7 separate regions of the Homo sapiens genome follow, and all the other regions are linked to region 1. Evidence: promoter capture Hi-C in 16 types of primary human blood cells and fetal thymus (Javierre and others, 2016). All regions are on one chromosome and are shown on one strand. Each heading gives the region's core, a stretch centred on a gene start or on the middle of the fragment in contact. The rest is flanking DNA. Distances are from core to core; before and after follow the strand shown. Region 1 holds the start of IGFL4 (IGF like family member 4). Region 2 has its middle 28 kb from the start of PNMA8B. Region 3 has its middle 6.3 kb from the start of PNMA8B. Region 4 has its middle 16 kb from the start of PNMA8C. Region 5 has its middle 4.8 kb from the start of CCDC8. Region 6 holds the start of PPP5C (protein phosphatase 5 catalytic subunit). Region 7 holds the start of HIF3A (hypoxia inducible factor 3 subunit alpha).

Evidence for each region. Contacts are between HindIII fragments. The CHiCAGO score rates a contact against its expected background, and 5 or more counts as called.
Region 2: a contact is called between a fragment that was not itself captured here and the fragment with the promoter of IGFL4 in region 1, in 1 of 17 cell types (endothelial precursors). The highest score is 5.0, in endothelial precursors.
Region 3: a fragment that was not itself captured here is called in contact with the fragment with the promoter of IGFL4 in region 1 in 1 of 17 cell types (M2 macrophages); the score reaches 5.1 in M2 macrophages.
Region 4: a contact is called between a fragment that was not itself captured here and the fragment with the promoter of IGFL4 in region 1, in 1 of 17 cell types (M1 macrophages). The highest score is 5.5, in M1 macrophages.
Region 5: a fragment that was not itself captured here is called in contact with the fragment with the promoter of IGFL4 in region 1 in 2 of 17 cell types (M1 macrophages and M0 macrophages); the score reaches 5.3 in M1 macrophages.
Region 6: a contact is called between the fragment with the promoter of PPP5C here and the fragment with the promoter of IGFL4 in region 1, in 16 of 17 cell types (M1 macrophages, erythroblasts, total CD4 T cells and 13 more). The highest score is 20.2, in M1 macrophages.
Region 7: a contact is called between the fragment with the promoter of HIF3A here and the fragment with the promoter of IGFL4 in region 1, in 4 of 17 cell types (M2 macrophages, M1 macrophages, total CD8 T cells and 1 more). The highest score is 8.8, in M2 macrophages.

What each region holds. Positions count from the first base shown.
Region 1 is chr19:46,039,562-46,042,364 of GRCh38, forward strand. It overlaps IGFL4 (IGF like family member 4), which reads right to left and starts at 1,441. Exons shown (of 4, transcript NM_001002923.3): 1 at 1,383-1,441; 2 at 957-1,007; 3 at 596-855; 4 at 1-375. The coding sequence starts at 1,401. The coding sequence ends at 331. The HindIII fragment of the contact is 377 bases long and covers 1,201-1,577 here.
Region 2 is chr19:46,522,737-46,525,539 of GRCh38, forward strand. It overlaps the pseudogene PPP5D1P. Among named protein-coding and RNA genes, the nearest start is that of PNMA8B, 28 kb to the left of the region's middle. The HindIII fragment of the contact is 3,185 bases long and covers 1-2,803 here.
Region 3 is chr19:46,500,799-46,503,601 of GRCh38, forward strand. No RefSeq gene overlaps it. Among named protein-coding and RNA genes, the nearest start is that of PNMA8B, 6.3 kb to the left of the region's middle. The HindIII fragment of the contact is 5,709 bases long and covers 1-2,803 here.
Region 4 is chr19:46,443,409-46,446,211 of GRCh38, forward strand. No RefSeq gene overlaps it. Among named protein-coding and RNA genes, the nearest start is that of PNMA8C, 16 kb to the left of the region's middle. The HindIII fragment of the contact is 2,810 bases long and covers 11-2,803 here.
Region 5 is chr19:46,416,968-46,419,770 of GRCh38, forward strand. No RefSeq gene overlaps it. Among named protein-coding and RNA genes, the nearest start is that of CCDC8, 4.8 kb to the left of the region's middle. The HindIII fragment of the contact is 1,589 bases long and covers 673-2,261 here.
Region 6 is chr19:46,345,720-46,348,522 of GRCh38, forward strand. It overlaps PPP5C (protein phosphatase 5 catalytic subunit), which reads left to right and starts at 1,368. Exons shown (of 13, transcript NM_006247.4): 1 at 1,368-1,498. The coding sequence starts at 1,378. RefSeq lists enhancers at 1,206-1,385, 1,486-1,615. The HindIII fragment of the contact is 16,758 bases long and covers 1-2,803 here.
Region 7 is chr19:46,295,675-46,298,477 of GRCh38, forward strand. HIF3A (hypoxia inducible factor 3 subunit alpha) reads left to right here and starts at 1,368. Exons shown (of 15, transcript NM_152795.4): 1 at 1,368-1,428. The coding sequence starts at 1,403. The HindIII fragment of the contact is 1,538 bases long and covers 654-2,191 here.

The DNA of each region.
Region 1 (2,803 bases), core at 191-2,690:
TTTCCTTGAGCAGTGGTTTGTAGTTCTCCTTGAAGAGGTCCTTCACATCCCTTGTAAGTTGGATTCCTAGGTATTTTATTCTCTGTGAAGCAATTGTGAATGGGAGTTCACTCATGATTTGGCTCTCTGTTTGTCTGTTGTTGGTGTATAAGAATGCTTGTGATTTTTGTACATTGATTTTGTATCCTGAGACTTTGCTGAAGTTGCTTATTTGCACTCCAGCCTGGGGGACAGAGTGAAACTCTGTCACAACAACAACAAAATCAATGCAGTATAATTACCAAGTATTAGATTCTAGAGTGATCTGTGACTCTGCTACCCCAGAACAGTCTAGATGAGGTCAGATCTTGACACAGGGCTTTTTGGGTGGTATTCCTGCAGAAGGAGAGAAGTGGGAGAGGGGAATAAGAGGGAGGGTGGTAGCAGCAGTGGCGGGGAAGGAACAGAGACATGGAGAAAGACAGAGTTGCATGGTTACTGAGAGATGGGAAGGTATGGAACCCAGCAGAGACTGCACATCTGGGTGGGACATGGACAACCAAGCTCCATTCCCTACTCCCCCCTCCCACAGCCTGGACTGGAGTCAGATCCTTACCTGGGCACAGATCCTGGTGATAGGGGAGGACTTGCAATCTGGCTTCATGCCTGGGACCTTGAACCTCACAACTGTCTGGTTCTGAGAGCCCAAAGACTCCAGGCAGCAGTGCTGGAAGCAGGGCCAGAAGGTGCAGCTGGAGCCGCAGAGCCGGGTCTGGTTCAAGTCTAGGATGACACCGTCATCACAGCACTGCTCCAAGGGGTTGTAGGTCCACTCCCCGCACCTGGGCGCTGGCTGGCATAGCCACAGTCTAAGATCTGGAAGAGTCGGGGCTGGATGGGCTGCAAGGACCAGCCTAGGACCACCTCCCCACCAACCTTAATGCTGTTCTCTCCTCCCTCACTGCATCTGTTCTCACCTGTGACTCCTTCTGAGTTTGAACCCAAAAGTTCAAAAATGAAGATGGCAGCTGAGAAGCAGAAGGAGAGCGAGAATGATTCTGAGGTCACTAGGTCTTGACCACGGGGCACAGGATGATGTCTCTGAGCTTCTCTGGTTGCTGTTAACAGCTCAGAGTGGATTTTGGGACTGGCTGTGGGTGCAGGTCCTGGGGACTGGGCTTGGCAGGTGAGGAAAGGCAGGGAGGGCTCTGGGAAAAGTTAAGCTTCTGGAATTTGCAGTTCAGGAGACAGATTACAATGCAGTCACAGATGACATAGCAGTGATTATGAGGTGGGACACCAATAATTAAATAGGGAAGAGAGAATTAACTTTGAAGTTCAGAAATAATTAGGGATGTGATATCATTAGGGATTAGCTTAGCCTAGGGCTGGGGTCTCCTTACCAGAAATTCTGGGCACCATGGGTTAGGCTTCAGAGCAGCGGACGAGGGAGCAGCAGTGGAAATGGGTCAGTGACTTTACATAGGGGCTTATATAGGATATGAACTTACCGCCATTTAGGGAGGTGTGCAGAAGGAGTGGTTTCTTGGGAAGAGTTAGGCAAAAAGAGCTGCAGGGAACATAAATAATTCATCAAAAGCTTAATGAGATGCTTCTGGACCTGTTCCAAGTGGTTGCTGCCTCCTCAGACCCTTCAGATCCTCAGGGTAAAGGCTACCCAGGAACCTATCTAAGCTTTGACTCTGCTGAGTGTCTTTCTTTGAACACCGCCCAAGGGAAAACCACTTGGAAGATATTCCTTAACTCTTGCTTATCTAAGATCAAATTACTCACCAAACACCGGCTGTCTCTAGGCTCCCCATATTCCTCCACCCTGAAGTTTCAAGGAGTCCCTCTACTCCCCGTCTCAGTTCACCTGCAGACCTGCACTGTCTATAATTTTTCAGAGTCACGTAGGAGAATTTGTGAAGTTGCAGCATAATCTAGAAGAACAGCAGGGGCTGCAAAACTGTGCCAGGGAGAACAACAACAACAAAAATAGGCGGTGGTAGGATGGATCTCTGGGATTCCAGATAGGAAAGCAGCACCTTTTTTTTTTTTTTGGTTTGTGGAGTGCCTTGTCCAAGAAAATGCTCCTGTGTGTCTCACTGTGTGATGGGATTACATGTGGCGTATTTTTAGAGCATGCCCCTCCATTTTCCACTGGTTTCTTCCCTGTGTCACAGTGAGAAGGGTGGGAGGGTGAAAGAAGGATAAGGCACAGGTATTAGAGCTTTGTAAAAGTGCATTGTTAGTATAGACTCTCTAGAGTCTCTTCCTCCTCCCTCCTCTCTCTCTTTTTTTTTTTTTTTTTTTGAGACACCGTATCTCTCTGTCTCCCAGGCTGGAGGGCAGTGGTGCTATCTTTGCTCACTGTAACCTTTGCCCCCCAAGTTGAAGCCATCCTCCCACCTCAGCCTCTTGAGTAGCTGGGACTACAGGCAGGCACCTCCTGGCCTGGCTAATTTTTTTGTATTTTTCATAGAGTTAGGGTCCTACAATGTTCTGGTCTTGGAATCCTGAGCTCAAGCAATCCACCTGCCCCAGCCTCCCAAAGTGCATTGATTTTGTTGTTGTTGTGCTTATTTGCACTCCAGCCTGGCCTCTCCTTTCTTGACTGGATGTCCAAGTCTTCGGTATTGATTTCATGCAATAAACTAGCTCTCCTCGCCTATTTCTGCAGTTGCGTATTTGCATAGATATGTCTGTTTGTCTGCTTATCAATATGCCTTCTCCTTTCCCACACATCCAAACAGAAATCCCACCTGTAAAGACACATTCTCTCACCTACACAGAACAGCTGCTGCGGAAACAGACCTATAAG
Region 2 (2,803 bases), core at 175-2,674, 480 kb after region 1:
TGATTATGGCTCACTGTAGCCTTGACCTCCTGGCCTGTAGTGATCCTCCCGTGTTAGTCTGCCAAGGAGCTGGGATTACAGGTGTGAGCCAGGGCACCCAGACTTCAGTATGAAGTTTTCTCTCCCTTCTCTTACCTTTCTCATATAAATCCTGTTTTGCTTTTGAACGTTGACAACAGTCCTATGACCATCTCCCTCCCCTTTGCATGCCAGTGTCCAAAACAAAATCAGATCCAATGAATAAATATTTAAAAGTTTGTTGTCATTAAAAAAAAGTGGGGACAGGGCACAATCCAGGAGACCTCAACCCAGGTAGTAAGAAGCTCAGAGGCATGTTGTTACAGGATGGCTGAGAAAGCAAAAATCAGGAAGTGGTTTAACCTTTACAGTGACTGTCTATACAGTGGAGGTTTCCAGATTGCACGGGACTGGTTAAAAGCAATCCTCTTATATCATTTGGGGAAGGCAACTTAAGTTTCGTTTATGATTATCAGAGGCATTTGTAAGAAATAACCTAAGCTGGCTGGGTGCGGTGGCTCACCCCTGTAATCCCAGCACTTTGGGAGACTGAGGCAGACAGATCACTTGAGGTCAGGAGTTTGAGACCAGCCTGAGCAACATGGTGAAACCCCGTCTCTACTAAAAAAAAAAAAATACAAAATACAAAAATTAGCAGGGCGTGGTGGTGCGTGCCTGTAATCCCAGCTACTTGGCAGGCTGAAGCACAAGAATTGCTTGAACCCCGGAGATGGAGGCTGCAGTGAGCAGAGATCATGCCACTATACTCCAGCCTGGGTCACAGAGCAAGATTCCATGAAAGAAAGAAAGAAAGAAAGAAAGAGAGAAAGGAAAGGAGAAAGGAAAGAAAGGGAGAGAGATAGCCGGGCGTGGTGGCTCACGCCTGTAATCCCAGCACTTTGGGAGGCCAAGGTGGGCGGATCACGAGGTCAGGAGATTGAGACCATCCTGGCTAACATGGTGAAACCCCGTCTCTATTAAATATACAAAAAATTAGGTGGCGGGCGCCTGTAGTTCCAGCTACTCGGGAGGCTGAAGCAGGAGAATGGCGTGAACCCAGAAGGCGGAACTTGCAGTGAGCCGAGATCGCACCACTGAACTCCAGCCTGGGCGACAGAGCCAGACTCCATCTCAGAAAAAAAAAAAAAAAACAAGGGAGAGAGATTGAGAGAGAGATCGAGATCTAAGTTGAGTTTCGCTTACATTCAAAAGTCAGAGTACCTTAGGTTTTGCTTATGTGGCCTGATTTTGTCTTCTTGGGGAATTCTCAGTCCGGATCCACCCCCCCTAGTTTTGTGTGTGTGTGTGTGAAACAGGGTCTCGCTCGGTTGCCCAGGCTGGAGTGAATGGCACGATCGCAGCTCACTGTAGCCTTAACCTCCTGTGCTCAGGTGATCCTGTTGCCTCAGCCTCGCAAGTAGCTGGGACCACAGGCATGCACCACTTTGTGCAGCTAATTTTTTTTTTTTTACTTTTATAGAGATGGAGTCTTGCCATGTTGCCCAGGCTGGTCTCAAACTCCTGGGCTCAAGGATCCTCCCAATTTGGCCTCCCAAAGTGTTGAGATTACAGGTGTGAGCCACTGCGCCTGGCTCCCCCCATTTTATTTTAACAACTTTCCCCTTTTGACATAGCAAGCTGAGGGGGTAATGAAATCGTATAGCATTACTTTCTGGGAGTGCTATTGGCTGGGACAGATGGGTGTATAGTCATTTTTGATAGCTGCATAGTCATCTTAGACATATGTGGTAGAGTCCTTAGGTTCTCCAAGTTGTCTAATGCAGATGGGTGTCATTAGTTGCATCAGTGGCTGTTGAGAGGCATTGGAAACCCTTAAGAGGATGCAACTCCCAGGGAGGTTAATATCATGACTAGGAGGAGAATAATATAGCCAAGGGTTGGAAAATTCACCAGAGGAGAGATTCCCAGGAGCCAAGATGTAACCAACTAAATAAATAAATGGAAAAAGTATCACCTATCTGATAAGATTTACATCTGTTCTTTAAAATCCTCTGAAGTGTGGGCAAAAATTCTTGATATATTAACACAGAAATGACAGCTTCATTCATTATACCTCCTTTTTGGGCAGTTAGAGTAGCTCAGACTCATACATTTTGTGAAATTATTGAAGCAAGGCTAGAAACCTCGGTTTGTAAGCCTTGGAGGAAATTAACAGTGTCATTGAAGTTTTTTTCTAAAGTTTTAGAGCATTTATAATAGCCCCTTCCTTCCTTCCTTCTTTTTCTTTTTCTGTTTCTGTTTTTGTTTTTTGATATGGAGTCTTGCTCTCTTGCCCAGGCTGGAGTGCAGGAGTGCAGTGGCATGATCTTGGACCACTGCAACCTCCCCTTCCTGGGTTCAAGCAATTCTCCTGCCTCAGCCTCCCAAGTACCTAGGACTACAGGTGTGCACCACCACACCCAGCTAATTTTAGTATTTTTAGTAGAGACGAAGTTTCACCATGTTGGCCAGGCTGGCATTGAACTCCTTACCTCAAGTGATCCACCCGCCTCGGCCTCCCAAAGTGCTGGGATTACAGGTGTCAGCCACTGTGCCTGGCCCATAATAGCCTTTTCTAAATCAGAGACACCAATACAAGGAATTGGAGCTCTGTCCACCAAAGGAAGTCAGTGTCATGTGTAGTGAGAGGGTTGGTGCTTCTTGGATTTCTCTAACGGTGCTATCTTCTGAACAAGTGAGCCAAGGTTGGTGGCTTTATTTGTAGAGATAGTTTATTGTATCTGAATATTGGGAGGGATTACTGCCAATCCATAATGACCACGAC
Region 3 (2,803 bases), core at 110-2,609, 460 kb after region 1:
TTAGTCTTTTACATTTGCCCAATAACCAAGCAAGTCACTTTGTCTCTTCATGGCTCTGTGGCCCCAGTTTATCGTGAGGTTGTGAGGATTTAAGCGGGATGTGTGTGTGTGTGTGTGTGTGTGTGTGTGTGTGTGTGTGTGTGTTGGAACAGTGCCTGGCCCTGAGTGTTACTGGGACAAAGATTTCATTCTCACCGTGGGACAGGATGAGGTGGCACGCTGGAATGCAGAGGGGACTCCCCAGGAGAGCGTCTGGTTTATAAGAGGACCCAAAGGTACAGAGGCTGAATTATGTCTCTTTAAAATTCATATGTTGGAGCCTGGGTGTGGTGGCTCACGCGTGTAATCCCATCATTCTGGGAGGCTGAGGCAGGTGGATTGCTTGTGGTCAGGAGTTCGAGACCAGCCTGGCCAACATGGCGAAACCCCATCTCTACTAAAAATACAAAAATTAGCCAGGTGTGATGGTGAGTGGCTGGAATCCCAGCTATTCAGGAGGCTGAGGCAGGAGAACCGCTTGAACCTGGAAGGCGGAGGTTGCAGTGAGCTGAGATTGTACCACTGAACTCCAGCCTGGGTGACAGGCATGACTGTCTCTAAATAAATAAATAAAATAAAATAAAATAAAATAAAATAAAATAAAATAAAATAAAATTCATATGTTGGGCTGTGTGTGGTGGCTCACACCTGTAATCCCAGCACTTTGGGAGGTTAAGGCAGGCAGATCACTTGAGGCCAGGAGTTCAAGACCAGCCTGCCCAACATGGTGAAACCCCATCTCTACCAAAAATACCAAAATTAGCTGGTCATGGCCAGGCATGGTGGCTCATGCCTGTAATCCCAGCACTTTGGGAGGCTGAAGTGGGTGGATCATGAGGTCAGGAGATCAAGACCATCCTGGCTAACACAGTGAAACCCCGTCTCTACTAAAAATACGCAAAATTAGCCAGGTGTGGTGGTGGGCACCTGTAGTCCCAGCCACTTGGGAGGCTGAGGCAGGAGAATGGTGTGAACCCGGGAGGCAGAGCTTGCAGTGAGCCGAGATTGCGCCACTGCACTCCAGCCTGGGCAACAGAGTGAGACTCCCGTCTGAAAAAAAAAAAAAGAAAAGAAAAATTAGCTGGTCATGTTGGCAGGTGCCTGTAATCCCAGCTACTCAGGAGGCTGAGGTGGGAGGATTGCTTGGGCCTGCCAGGTCGAGGCTGCAGTGAGCCATGACTGAGCCACTGCACTCCAGCCTGGATGACAGAGTAAGACCCTGTCTCAAAAAAAAAGAAAAAAAAAAAAAAGGATAGACTATGAACCCCAAGCCCTGTGCACAGAAGATCTTACAGGGACCAGCCAGGCAGGGACATCAGGATCCCCAACATGTCCTGCCCAGTCCCGCCCTGGGCATTTCCCCTGGAATCATGATCTCTTCTTAGGCAGAGATGAGCCTATGACTGACCAAGCCACTGCCTGTAAGGTTCCAATGGAAACAGCTGGAAGAAAGGGCGTAAAGCGTTCAAGGCCGGGCGTGGTGGCTCACGCCTGTAATCCCAGCACTTTGGGAGACCGAGGCGGGTGGATCACATGAGGCCAGGAGTTCAAGACCAGCCTGGACAACATGGTGAAACCCCGTCTCTACTAAAAATACAAAAATTAGCTGGGCCTGATGGCATGCACTTGGAGTCCCAGCAACTCAGGAGACTGAGGTGGGAGGATCGCTTGAAAAAATTGTTCGAAATTCTTCTCCCCCTCATTTTGTGTTCGAGAAAAATACAAGTGAATCTGCTTAACTGGAAATGGCGCTATTGGAGCAAGGGTTCTCTTTCTTTGTTTTCGTTTTTTTTTTTTCGAGACGGAGTCTCACTCTGTTGCCCAGGCTGGAGTGCAGTGGCGCAATCTCAGCTCACTGCAAGCTCCGCCTCCCGGGTTCACGCCATTCTCCTCCCTCAGCCTCCCAAGTAGCTGGGACTACAGGTGCCTGCCACCACATCCGGCTAATTTTTTAATTTTTTTAGTAGAGACGGGGTTTCACCGTGTTAGCCAGGATGATCTCAATCTCCTGACCTCGTGATCCGCCCGCCTCAGCCTCCCAAAGTGCTGGGATTACAGGTGTGAGCCACCGCCCCCGGCCAGAGCAAGGGTTCTCAAAGTGTGGTCTGGGGACCTCTACGGGTTGCAAGGACATTCCAGGGCATCCATCAGATAAAAACCATTTTCATAATACTAAACCATTATTTGTCTTTTCACTCTTACTCTCTTACCAGTGTTCAGTGGAATTTTCCAGAGGCTACATGCCGTGCCGTATTGCAGCTGACTGAACCAGGAGGCAGGTCAAGGATTGTTGAGCCAGATATCAAAGTGAGTTGAAAAACACCAAAATACTACAGTGCCACTCTTCTCACTAACTTTGTTTTGTTTTGGGAAATATATCTATTTTTAGGGCTAGGCAAGGTGGCTCATACCTGTTATCCCAGTACTTTGGGAGACCAAGACAGGAGGATTGCCTGAGCCCAGGAGTTCGAGACCAGCCTGGACAACATAAGGAGACCCCATCTCTACAAAAAATACGAGAAAAATTAGTCAGTTGTGGTGGCCCATGCCTGTAATACCAGCTACTGGGGAGGCTGAGGTAGGAGAATTGCTTGAACCTGGGAGGTTTGAGGCTGCAGTGAACCATGATTGTGCCACCGCACTTCAGCCTGGGAAACAGAGTGAGACCCTGTCTCAAAAAAAAAAAACCTATTTATATATGTTATCTACATGAGTGTGTAACATGTTTGTTACTAGGCAGGAGATTTTCAGGCTCCAGATGGCC
Region 4 (2,803 bases), core at 166-2,665, 400 kb after region 1:
TTCGGCAGGAAGCTTCTCTGACTGTCCCAAGTCCTCATTCCAATAAACATAAAAACAACAATCATATTATAGGCATTGACATGCATTCTGAAGAACCTTATATTTTGCTCAATAGCATGTTTGTTTTTTGTTGTTCTTTTGTTTTTTTTTTTTTTTTTTGAGACGAAGTCTCGCTCTGTCGCCCAGGCTGGAATGCAGTGGCAAGATCTCGGCTCACTGCAAGCTCCGCCTCCTGGGTTCTGGCCATTCTCCTGCCTCAGCCTCCCAAATAGCTGAGACTACAGGCACCCACCACCATGCCCAGCTAATTTTTTGTATTTTTAGTAGAGACAGGGTTTCACTGTGTTAGCCAGGATGGTCTCAATCTCCTGACCTCGTGATCTGCCCACCTCGGCCTCCCAAAGTGCTGGGATTACAGGTGAGAGCCACCGCGCCCAGCCTGTTTTTTGTTTTTGAGACGGAGCCTCGCTCTATTGCACAGGCTGGAGTGCAGCGGCGTGATCTCAGCTCACTGCAACCTCTGCCTCCCAGGTTCAAGCGATTCTTCTGCCTCAGCCTCCCCAGTAGCTGGGATTACAGGTGTGTGCCACCACACCTGGCTAATTTTTGTATTTGTAGTAGACACGGGGTTTCACCATGCTGGCCAGGCTGGTCTCAAAACTCTTGACCTCAAGTAATCTGCCCACTTCGGCCTCCCAAAATACTGGGATTACAGGCGTGAGCCACTGTGCCTGGTCAGTAGCATGTTAGAATTAAATGAGCCTTTTGGGAAAATTCAGGTGAGGGTAGGTTACCCAAAGACTATGCAGCCACGTTCAAACCTTTGGTGGTTTATGTATTTATTTAGAGACAGGGTCTCACTCCTGTCACCCAGGCTGGAGTGCTGTGGCATGATCATGGCTCAGTGCAGCCTCGACCTCCTAGGCTTGGGTGATTCTCGTGGCCACCTCAGCCTTGTGAGTGGCTGGGACTACAGAGACACACCACCTCACCCAGCTAATTTTTTTTTTTGTATATTTGTATTTTTAGTAGAGACAGGGTTTTGCCATGTCGCCCAGGCTGATCTCAAACTCCTTGGCTCAAGCGATCTTCCTGCCTCAGCCTTCCAAAGTGTTGGGATTACAGGCATGAACCACCACACTCAGCCCTTTGGTGTTTTTTTTGTTTGTTTGTTTGTTTGAGATGGAGTCTCGCTCTGTCACCCAGGCTGGAGTGCAGTGGCGCCATCTCCGGCTCACTGCAAGCTCCACCTCCCGGGTTCACACCATTCTCCTGCCTCAGCCTCCCGAGTAGCTGGGACTACAGGTGCCCGCCACCACGCCCGGCTAATTTTTTTTTTGTAGTTTTAGTAGAGACGGAGTTTCACCGTGTTAGCGGGGATGGTCTCAATCTCCTGACCTCATGATCTGCCCACCTCGGCCTCCCAAAGTGCTGGGATTACAGGCGTGAGCCACCTCTCCTGGTCCTTAATTTTTAAAGTTTTTGTAGAGACGGGGTCCCACCATGTTGCCCCAGCTGGTCTTGAACTCCTGGGCTCAAGTGATCCTCCTGCCTTGGCCTCCCAAAGTGCTGGAATTACAAAGTGCTGGTGACGTGAACCACCTTGCCCAGCTGTGTACACTCTAAATGGTTCATTTTATATTATTTCTAAATGGTTCATTTTATATTATGTGAATTTCACCTCAATACAAAACTTTTTTTTTTTTCAGACGGAGTTTCCCTCTTGTTGCCCAGGCTGGGGTGCAATGGCACGATCTCGGCTCACTGCAACCTACGCCACCCCAGGTTCAAGCGATTCTCCTGCCTCAGCCTCCCGAGTAGCTGGGATTACAGGCACGCACCACCATGCCCGGCTAATTTTGTGTTTTTAGTAGAGATGGGGTTTCACCATGTTGGTCATGCTGGTCTCAAACTCCCGACCCCAGGTGATCCACCTGTCTCAGCCTCCCAAAGTGCTGGGATTACAGGCGTGAGCCACCGCGCCCGGCTTTTTTGTTGTTGTTGTTTTTTGTTTTTTTTAATTGACTCAGCTTTGGGCTTGAACTGTTAGAATGATGGTGCGTCCATTCAGTGAGATGAGGAAGCTCTAGGGAAAATGAACTTGGGAGTGGGGAATCCCATTTTGAATGTCTTAAATTTGATATGCCTTGTAGGCTTCCAAGCCGAGTTAGATATATGAGCCTGGAGTTCAGAGATGGGGTGGAGATAAAAATTTAGAAGCCATTGGCACACGGGAAATATCTTAAGCCATGGAGCTAGATGAGCTCATTTAGGCCAGAGGTGTCCAATCTTTTGGCTTCCCTGGGCCACACTGGAAGAAGAATTGTCTTGGGCAACACATAAAATACGCTAACACTAACAATAGCTGATGAGCTAAAAAAAAAAAAAAATCGCAAAAAAAAAAAATCTCATTTTTTGTTGTTGTTGTTGTTTTTTGTTTTCGAGACGGAGTTTCGCTCTTGTTGCCCAGGCTGGAGTGCAATGGCCCAGTCTCGGCTCACTGCAACCTCCACCTCTGGGTTCAAGTGATTCTCCTTCCTCAGCCTCCCAAGTAGCTGGGATTATAGGCATGCACCACCACACCCGGCTAATTTTGTATTTTTAGTAGAAACAGGGTTTCTCCATGTTGGTCAGGCTGGTCTCGAACTCCCGACCTCAGGTGATCCGCTCGCCTCAGCCTCCGAAAGTGCTGGGATTATAGGCGTTGCCACCGCACCCGGCCAAAATCTCATAATGTTCTAAGAAAGTTTACGAATTTGTGTTGGGCCACCTTCAGAGCCATCCTGGGCCGCATGCAGCCCAC
Region 5 (2,803 bases), core at 217-2,716, 380 kb after region 1:
TTTTTGTTTGTTTTTCTTTTTTTATTTGGTGGGGGAGCAGGGAGCGGCGCAAGGAGGATAATCTAAGAAATGAAAATCCCAAATGTTCCATATTTTTGCAAAAATCGTCAACCTCCGGCCGGGGGCGGTGACTCATGCCTGTAATCCCAGCACTTTGGGAAGCCAAGGCAGGAGGATCGCTTGAGCCCAGGAATTGGAGACCAGCCTGGGCAACATAGCGAGACTCCGGTCTCCACAAAAAATTTAAAAATTAGCCGAATATTATGGTGTGCGCCTGTGGTCTGAGCTACTCGGGAGACTGAGGTGGGCCTATCGCTTGAGCCCGGGAGGTCAGGGCTGCAGGAAGCGGAGATCGCCCATCTGCACGCCAGCCTGGGCAACAGAGCGAGACTCCATCTCAAAAAAAAAAAAAATTGCCAGCCCCTGAACGGTTCAGCTGTGGGTGTTTTTAATTGCACAGATCTCTGGCAGGTGAGACCCTTCTCCAGCCATCACAGAATAAAATAATAAAAACGAGAACTGTAGCCTCACTTTTGCATTTGTTTAAAATAAATGGAAAGTTGGAAAAGAATGGGGAAGAGAAACAAAACACGGCTGAAATCCCTCTACCCAGCTACATTTTGTTGCCATTTAAAAAAAAAATGGGACACGCGGGCCAGGGGCAGTGGCTCAAGCTTGTAATCCAAGCAATTTGGGAGGCCTACGCGGGCGATCGCCTGAAGTCAGGAGTTCGAGACCAGCCTGGCCAATATGATGAAACCCCACCGTCTCTACTAAAAGTACAAAAATTAGCTGGGCACGATGGCAGGCGCCCGTAATCTCAGCTACTAGGGAGGCTGAGGCAGGAGAATCGCTTGAACCTGGGAGGCACAGGTTGCAGTGAGCTGAGGTGGTGCCACTGTACTCCAGCTTGGGCAACAGAGTAACACCCTGTCTCAAAAAAGGATACACGGTCAGAAAAAGCAAAAGTTACAGAAAGGTAAATTTTTTTCAAAAAAGGATTCTTCTCCCCAAACCCCACCTTCCAGCCTCTCCCCAAAAAGTAACCAGTTAAATATCTCTGTATTTTTCCAGAGAAAAAATGCTTGCATTAGTGTATGTGTTAATTTTATTTTATTTTATTAATTTATTTTTTTTTTTTTGAGACGGAGTTTTGCTCTTATTGCCCAGGCTAGAGTGCAATGGCGCGATCTCCGACTCACCACAACCTCCACCTCCCGCGTTCAAGCAATTCTCCCGCCTCAGCCTCCAGAGCAGCTGGGATTACAGGCCAACCCACCCAGCTAATTTTGTATTTTTAGTAGAGACGGGATGTCTCCATGTTGATCAGGGTGGTCTCGATCTCGAACCTCAGGTGATCCACCCACCTTGGCCTCCCAAAGTGCTGGGATTACAGGCGTGAGCCACTTCACCTGGCTTTTTTTTTTATGTTAATTTTAGAATTTATCTCACAGAGATTTTTTTCCCCCATCATCCTAAATTATTTTCATCACAGCACTTACCACTTTCTGTTTTTGTTTTTTTTTTTCTTTGAGACAGGGTCTCACTCTGTCACCCAGGCTGAAGTGCAGTGGCATGATCATGGCTCACTGTAACCTCGAAATCCTGGGCTCAAGCAATCCTCCCACCTCAGCCTTCTGAGTGTCTGGGGCTACAGGTGTGTGCCACCATGCCTGGCTATTTTTAAAAATTTTTTGTAGAGAGGTATTCTCATTATGTTGCCCAGACCGGTCTTGAACTCCTGGCCTCAACTGATGCTCCTGCCTCTGGGTCTCAAAGTGCTGGGATTACAGGCGAGAGGCACCACGCTGGGCCTATTTGTATGTACTTATTTATTGTTTCACCCTATTAGAATACTATCCCCATGAGGTCTGGGATATGAGTCTGGTTTGTTCACTGCTGAAGTCTCAGCATCTAGAACACTTCAGGTAGGAGCTACAAATATTTATTAACTGAATGAATGCTGAGAATTGCACTAGATTTATTACTATAAAATGTGTTTTCACTTAATGTCCTTCTGTATCAGTGCTTGCCAGTCTGTTTTTGTTTGTCACGACAGCTTCCATCTTTATTCCTTCAAGCCAGGAACGTGATACTGATAATAATTCATTTTTACTGAGCACCTACTTTATCCTTGGCCCTGTGCATTTTCTCATTCAGTCCTTAGAACCCTTCCTTAAGCAAATGTTATTCCCATTTTTCAGATTAAAAAAAAAAACTGAGTCCAAGGAAAGTCACACAGCTAGGTAGTGGCAGAGCCAAGCTTTGAATCACTCAGGTTTATTAGATTCCAATCTCCACACACTTTTTGTTTGTTTGTTTGTTGTTTGTTTGTTTGTTTTGAGACAGGGTCTTGCTCTGTCGCCCAGTGATACGATTTCTGCTCACTTCAGCCTCGACCTCCTGGGCTCAAGCTATCCTCCCATCTCAGCTTCCCAAGTAGCTGGGACTACAGGCCCATGTCACCATGCCCAGCTAATTTTTTGTAAAGTTGGAGTTTCGCCATATTTTCCAGGCTAATCTCGAACTCCTGGGCTCAAGTGATCCTCCTACCTCAGCCTTCCAAAGTGCTGGCATTACAGATGGAAGCCACCATGCCTGGCCCCAATCTCCACACTCAGTGGGGTGGATCGCTTGAGCCCAGGAGTTCAAGACCAGCCTGGGCAACATAGCAAAACCCCATCTCTACAAAAATAGTACAAAAAATTAGCTGGACGTGGTGGTGCAAGCCTGTAGTCCCATCTACTCGGGAGGCTGAGGTGGGAGGAGCATCTGAGCATAGGATGTCCAGGCTGCAGTGAGC
Region 6 (2,803 bases), core at 118-2,617, 310 kb after region 1:
GACTAACAAGAGGTTTGGGAGTGGGATAGATAGGTTTAGGAGTGTGCTTCCAGGAGGGGATCCAGAGCCTTACAGGACTTAGTGCTACATGAGGGCTTAGAAAGGACAGACTGGAAGCGTGTACGGCGGGTGGGGATTGGCAAAGGGGTGGAATCTGGATATTAGACTATTCAGCCTGAGGTTAAGACTATTCAGGGTCTCCTAATCAGGAGTTTGGGTTTTCTCCTAAGGGTGCTGGGGCCATGGAAGCCTGGGAGCGAGAGTGTGCCATGGTTTTATCATGTCTTAGAAAGATCCCTCGGCCGGGCACGGTGGCTCACGCCTGTAATCCCAGCACTTTGGGAGGCCGAGGCGGGCGGATAGCTTGAGGTCGGCAGTTCGAGGCCAGCCTGGCCAACGTGGTGAAACCCGTTTCTACTAAAATACAAAAATTAGCCGGGCATGGTGGCGGGCGCCTGTAATCCCAGCTACTTGGGAGGCTGAGGCAGAAGAATCGCTTAAACCGGGAGGCGGAGGTTGCAGTGAGCCTAGATGGCGCCACTGCACTCCAGCCTGGGCGACAGAGGGAGACTCCCTCTCAAAAAAAAAAAAAAAAAAAAAAAAATGTGAAGGGTAAACTGGAGGGAGGCAGAGTGCATGCAATCAATGCTGTGATCTCAGACAAGAGAATCTGTAAAAACACAAACAGGAGAGTTTATTTGAAGATTCAGGATTTGGGAAGCTGAACACAGGAAGAAAGGAGATGGTGCAACACACTTCTAAGCCTTGCTCAGGACTTGAAATCCAGAGTGCCTTCAGTTAAAAACTCAAACACTGACCCTCAAGGTTGGACCCTTTTTGGCTTGAGAAACCACTAATTTTTCAGAGATGGGTAACTGAGACCCTAGAGAGGAAGGGAAGATTTGTTCAAGGTCACACAGGTAGTCGACAATAGGGCTCGACGCCCGGGTCCGGCTCCGCGTAGGGCATGGCGCTGCCTTGCAAAACAGCCACACCCGCCAGCGACATTCACAACCCACCCCCCAACCCTAGAGGACAGCGGGGAAATCCCACTTTCAGAACCGAGAAACTTTTTACAGCCTTGGAACACGGTAACTTTGGGAGGAGAGGCCACACCAGGTCTGTTTCCCCGCGCGCCCCTTCTCTCATTCCCTATTGGCTCTCTCTACCAGGGGTACCGTCTGGGGAACCTCTGGTCACCTTGTCCTCCGCGCGCTCTGTGGCGAAAGGGACCTGCGCAGGCGCGTGAAGGGCGCCTTCAGGGCCCGCGCTTTACGACACTTGTGCGGCAGCGGCGGCGGCCACCCGGCGCTCCTTCGCGACGGTTCGGCCGGGTGCCGCTGGCGGCCGTTGCCAGGGTAGGGGTCGCTTTGCGGCATGGCGATGGCGGAGGGCGAGAGGACTGAGTGTGCTGAGCCCCCCCGGGACGAACCCCCGGCTGATGGAGCTCTGAAGCGGGCAGAGGAGCTCAAGACTCAGGCCAATGACTACTTCAAAGGTGCGCCCGCCTGGCAGGGAGGGTGGACAGTGGCCCAGGCTGAGGGGTGCCGGGCCCGCGCGGAACCATAGCAACGCGGAGCTGCAGCCTGGGCGCGGGGCAGACACTACCAAGTGACCGGGCGTGGGGAGGCCCAGGATGGCGCTGCCAAGGAGCGACATAGGGGGCTTCGGAGAGTGATACCTAGGAGTGGCGTGCGGAGCGGGTGCTACTCAGTGGAGAGACTGAGGAGGGCGCCACCAATTGTGGGGCGAGAGGGGGACTGGAATGAGGGCGCTACCAAACGTGAGGCCTGTAGAGGGCGCTACCAGGCAGTGACATGTGGTGGGGGAGTGATTGATGGCGCTACCAAATGGGGAGTCCTGGGGTGGGTGCCGCCAAGTGGGGGGTAGAGGGGGCACAGCCCCAATAGAGAAGGCAATCGTGGGGGTGGGGAATGGATCATTAGATGGGGGGAACAAGGAAGTAGGAGATTTGGGCTGACCCGAGGAAAAGGAATGTGATGGTGGGGGCCTTGGGAGTAAGGGTGGGGATCCTTAAGAATAGTATCACTTAGAATATTGAGAGTCAAGTGTGGGGCACCCATTCATTCATTAATTCAACAAATATTTATTGAGTACCTGTTATGTGCCAAGGACTGTGCTTGACTTTGGGGATATAGCAGTGAATGAGACAGATGTGGCCCTGTCCTTAGCTTGTAATTTTGCAGGTGAACCAGACATGAAAAAAAAAAAAACAAAAAAAAACCATGTAAATAAGTAAAATACTTAAATTGTGATGAGTGCTTTGAAAGCAAACCAGCAGTGTGATGAAGTAGAGAATAAGGGTTGGAGGCTACTTTAGATAGGGTAGTGGGGGAAGGCCTTACTGAGCAGGAGGCGTTTAAGCTGAAACTCACAGAGGGAGAACTGGAGAGGAGTGTTCCAGGGAGGTAAAGCAGCCTGTGCAAAGGCCCTGGGATGGGGAATGAAAGGGTACTGGCATGGCTGGGGCTTTGGCTACTTAGGGGGAGACCAATAACAAGATGAGATTAGGACAGAGGCCAGATCATGCAGGGTCTCCGTGAGTCATTACAAAGACCAGTTTGGAATTTTTTTTTTTTTTTTTTTTTTGAGACGGGAGTTTTGCTCTTTTTGCCCAGGCTAGAGTGCAATGGCGCAATCTCGGCTCACTGCAACCTCCGCCTCCCTGGTTCAAGCGATTCTCCTGCCTCAGCCTCCCGAGTAGCTGGGATTATAGACGCACACCACCATGCCCAGATAATTTTTGTACTTTTAGTAGAGATGGGGTTTCGCCATGTTGGCC
Region 7 (2,803 bases), core at 118-2,617, 260 kb after region 1:
TGGCAGTGTGAGCCCCATCTGCTCCATCTGCCCAGCAATTCCAGCAGACATAGAAAATCCTCTTTCCTAATGGTTTCAGCAAATGTCTCAGGGTTGATTCTCATTGGGCTAAATTAGGTAACATGCCTTCCCTGAACCAATCACTGTGGCCAGGGAAGCAGACTCAACTGATTAGCCAGGTTTGGATCCTATGTCCATCCCTGGAGCTGGTGAAGGCAGAGCAGTGGCCAAGCCCTATTCAAATTAAATAGATGAAGAGGACAGAGAAGTGGTTTCCCAAAAGAAAACAGAGTGGGGAACTGGCGTGAGCCGGGGAGCCGTGTGGATTCCTGGAGGAAGAGTGTGCTAAGCTGTGGGAACAGCAAGTGCAAAGGCCCTAAGGTGAGCAACTTGCCTGGCAAGTTCAAGGTTCAACAAGGCCACTTCTGCTGTAGTATCCTCTTCCCTGCCAACCAAATCCAGAATAGTGGTCCAACACACACACACACACACACACACACACACACTCTGTTCCTTATCCAACTGTAATGCTTTCACCCTTGCTTGGTACCTTTGTACTTCTCCCTTCATAGTCGACTAGTTAAAAAAAAATACATTTCTCGGCTCTTTTTTGAAGTAGGTGTGATTGAGTTAAAACATATTTACTTGACATAAGCTTAATTATTCATCAATGGGAACCTGAAAAGGGAGTCAGAGAGGCCAAGAGGTTAGGGTGGAGTAGAGGGGGTAGGGAAGGTAAGCTGGGGTGCAGAGGGTGCAGACTGGAGGAATGGGGGCGAAGTGGGGTATGGGACTGGGGTGGCAGGGAGGGGCTGGGGAGAGAGAGAGAAGGGTAGGTGCCAGAGGGCCAAGGATTGTGGAACTGGGGTGGGGTTGGGAGTTGGGGGGTGGGGAGGAGATGTGGGGTACTCTGTGAATACCTTAGAAGGGATAGAGAAGGCAGGGCTAGGGGTTTGGAAGGGGTGGGATTGGAGGTCAGAGGGGCTCAACTGGGGTTAGGAAATGGAAAGGTGAGAAGAGGTGGGGGTTAGAGGCTGGGGACTGGGGTCCAGAGAGCAGAGTGAACTGAGTGGGTTCAGAAGAGTACTGGCGTTGGCACTTCAGAGGCTGGACTAGAGAAGGCGCGTTCAGCCGACGGTGCGGGATACACTGCCGAGGAAGTCCGCGGCGAGGGGCGTGGTTGGGGGGTGTGTATTACACGGTATCCCCCCCTTGCCTTTCCAAGTCTTTCCCTCTGGTTCCGCCTCCTTTTCAGGAGTGACATACCGTTGCCCAATCAGAGCCTCAGGCCTGGCGTGGCACAGCCAACCGCGCGGCGTGGGGAGGAGCTGGGGAGGGGGCTCGCAAGGCCGGGGAGGGGGCTAGGGGCCTCCGAGGGCTCCGGAGCGGCGACTGGCGAGCCATGGCGCTGGGGCTGCAGCGCGCAAGGTACTGAAGTTCGGGGGCAGGAGTTCTGGGAATTGGGGGGCTCTCCTCCTGGAGACCCCTGAGCTGGATTGTTGGGGGGGGTGGGGTTCGCGGGTGCGAGCCAAGAACGCCCCGGGGCGCGCAGTTGGAGGCACATCCCCACCGCACTCTCCACCCTTAGGGACTGCAGGGGTGGGGGATTCCCTACGTCTCTGGCTGCCCCGCCCCTCTGGCCAAGAGCGGCTTCGGGGTTCCCGATTTCTCGCTACCCAAGGCTCATTTACCCTCCTGGTTGGGGGTGGAACTTGGGATTCCTGATAAATTAGGGGTGATTGCATTTGAGCAGTCCCCAGGCTTCTGCGGGAGATATTCGCCCTCCACATATTGATCCCTCTGGCCTCTGAACCCCCCAAAATTGAGGGTATTCTTTGCCACCAGGTGCCTGGGATCCTAGGTGATATGGGATACCCCTAAATGGAGCCTTCCCACATATAGGGAGTCCCTTGGAATGGCATTCAGCTCCTGAGTTCAAGAGAGGAGAGATCTCCTCTAATAGTATGCTTCCTGACACAGTCTCCTAAACATTGGGTTTCCCTAGAAATGGGCAGAGGGGAGCCCCTTTCAGAAGCCGTCTGGGACCCTTCCCAAGAGACTTTTTGTATCCTTTCAAAAGCCAGAGTCACCCCCTTAAATAACAGGGAAACAAGCTGGACCCACTTCCCAAAGTCCAGCCCCTCATCTCACCCCTGCACCCCCATCCTGAGAGACAGGGGAGCCTCATCCAAGCTTTATTTTGGGGAGACTCCATGGCAGGGTGCTGTGAGCCTGCAGGCTGTGATGGGAACGCCCCCTGCCGCAGTACTCAGATGGGGTCATCCCGGGCAGAGGGTGGGTTTCTGGGTTCACTTGCCCAGCAGGTGCAGCTCTGCTGGAACACAGGGGAACCTGTGCCCTGGGGCCGCTGCCGGGGGGTTTTATCTGGCCATGTTCCCATGGGACCCTGGAAAATGTTCTAGGTCCTCAGCTTTCCCTGTCCAATGTGAGGCACCCAGTAAGCCTCACCCCCTTCCCTCCTCCCTGGCTTCTCAGGCCTGATTGGATCCATGCACACCCCATGTTTCTAACCGCCCCCATCCTCTCCCCTGTCCCCTACTCTATTCCAGGCCCTGGCTCTGGGCCTAACAAGGAACTCTATCCCACCCCTTTTGGGCCAGCTGTCGTTCCGCCCCTCTCAGCGCCCCCTCCTGGCTGGGTGGGGGCCCCTCTTGGCTGAGCTCGGGTGCCCCCCCTCCCCACCCAAGGCCGGCCCTTTCCTGTGGAGTCATCTCACCGCCGTGCGCACCCACTCGTAACTCGCACCCGGGTCCTGGCTGCACCGCATCCCCTCCTGCACCCC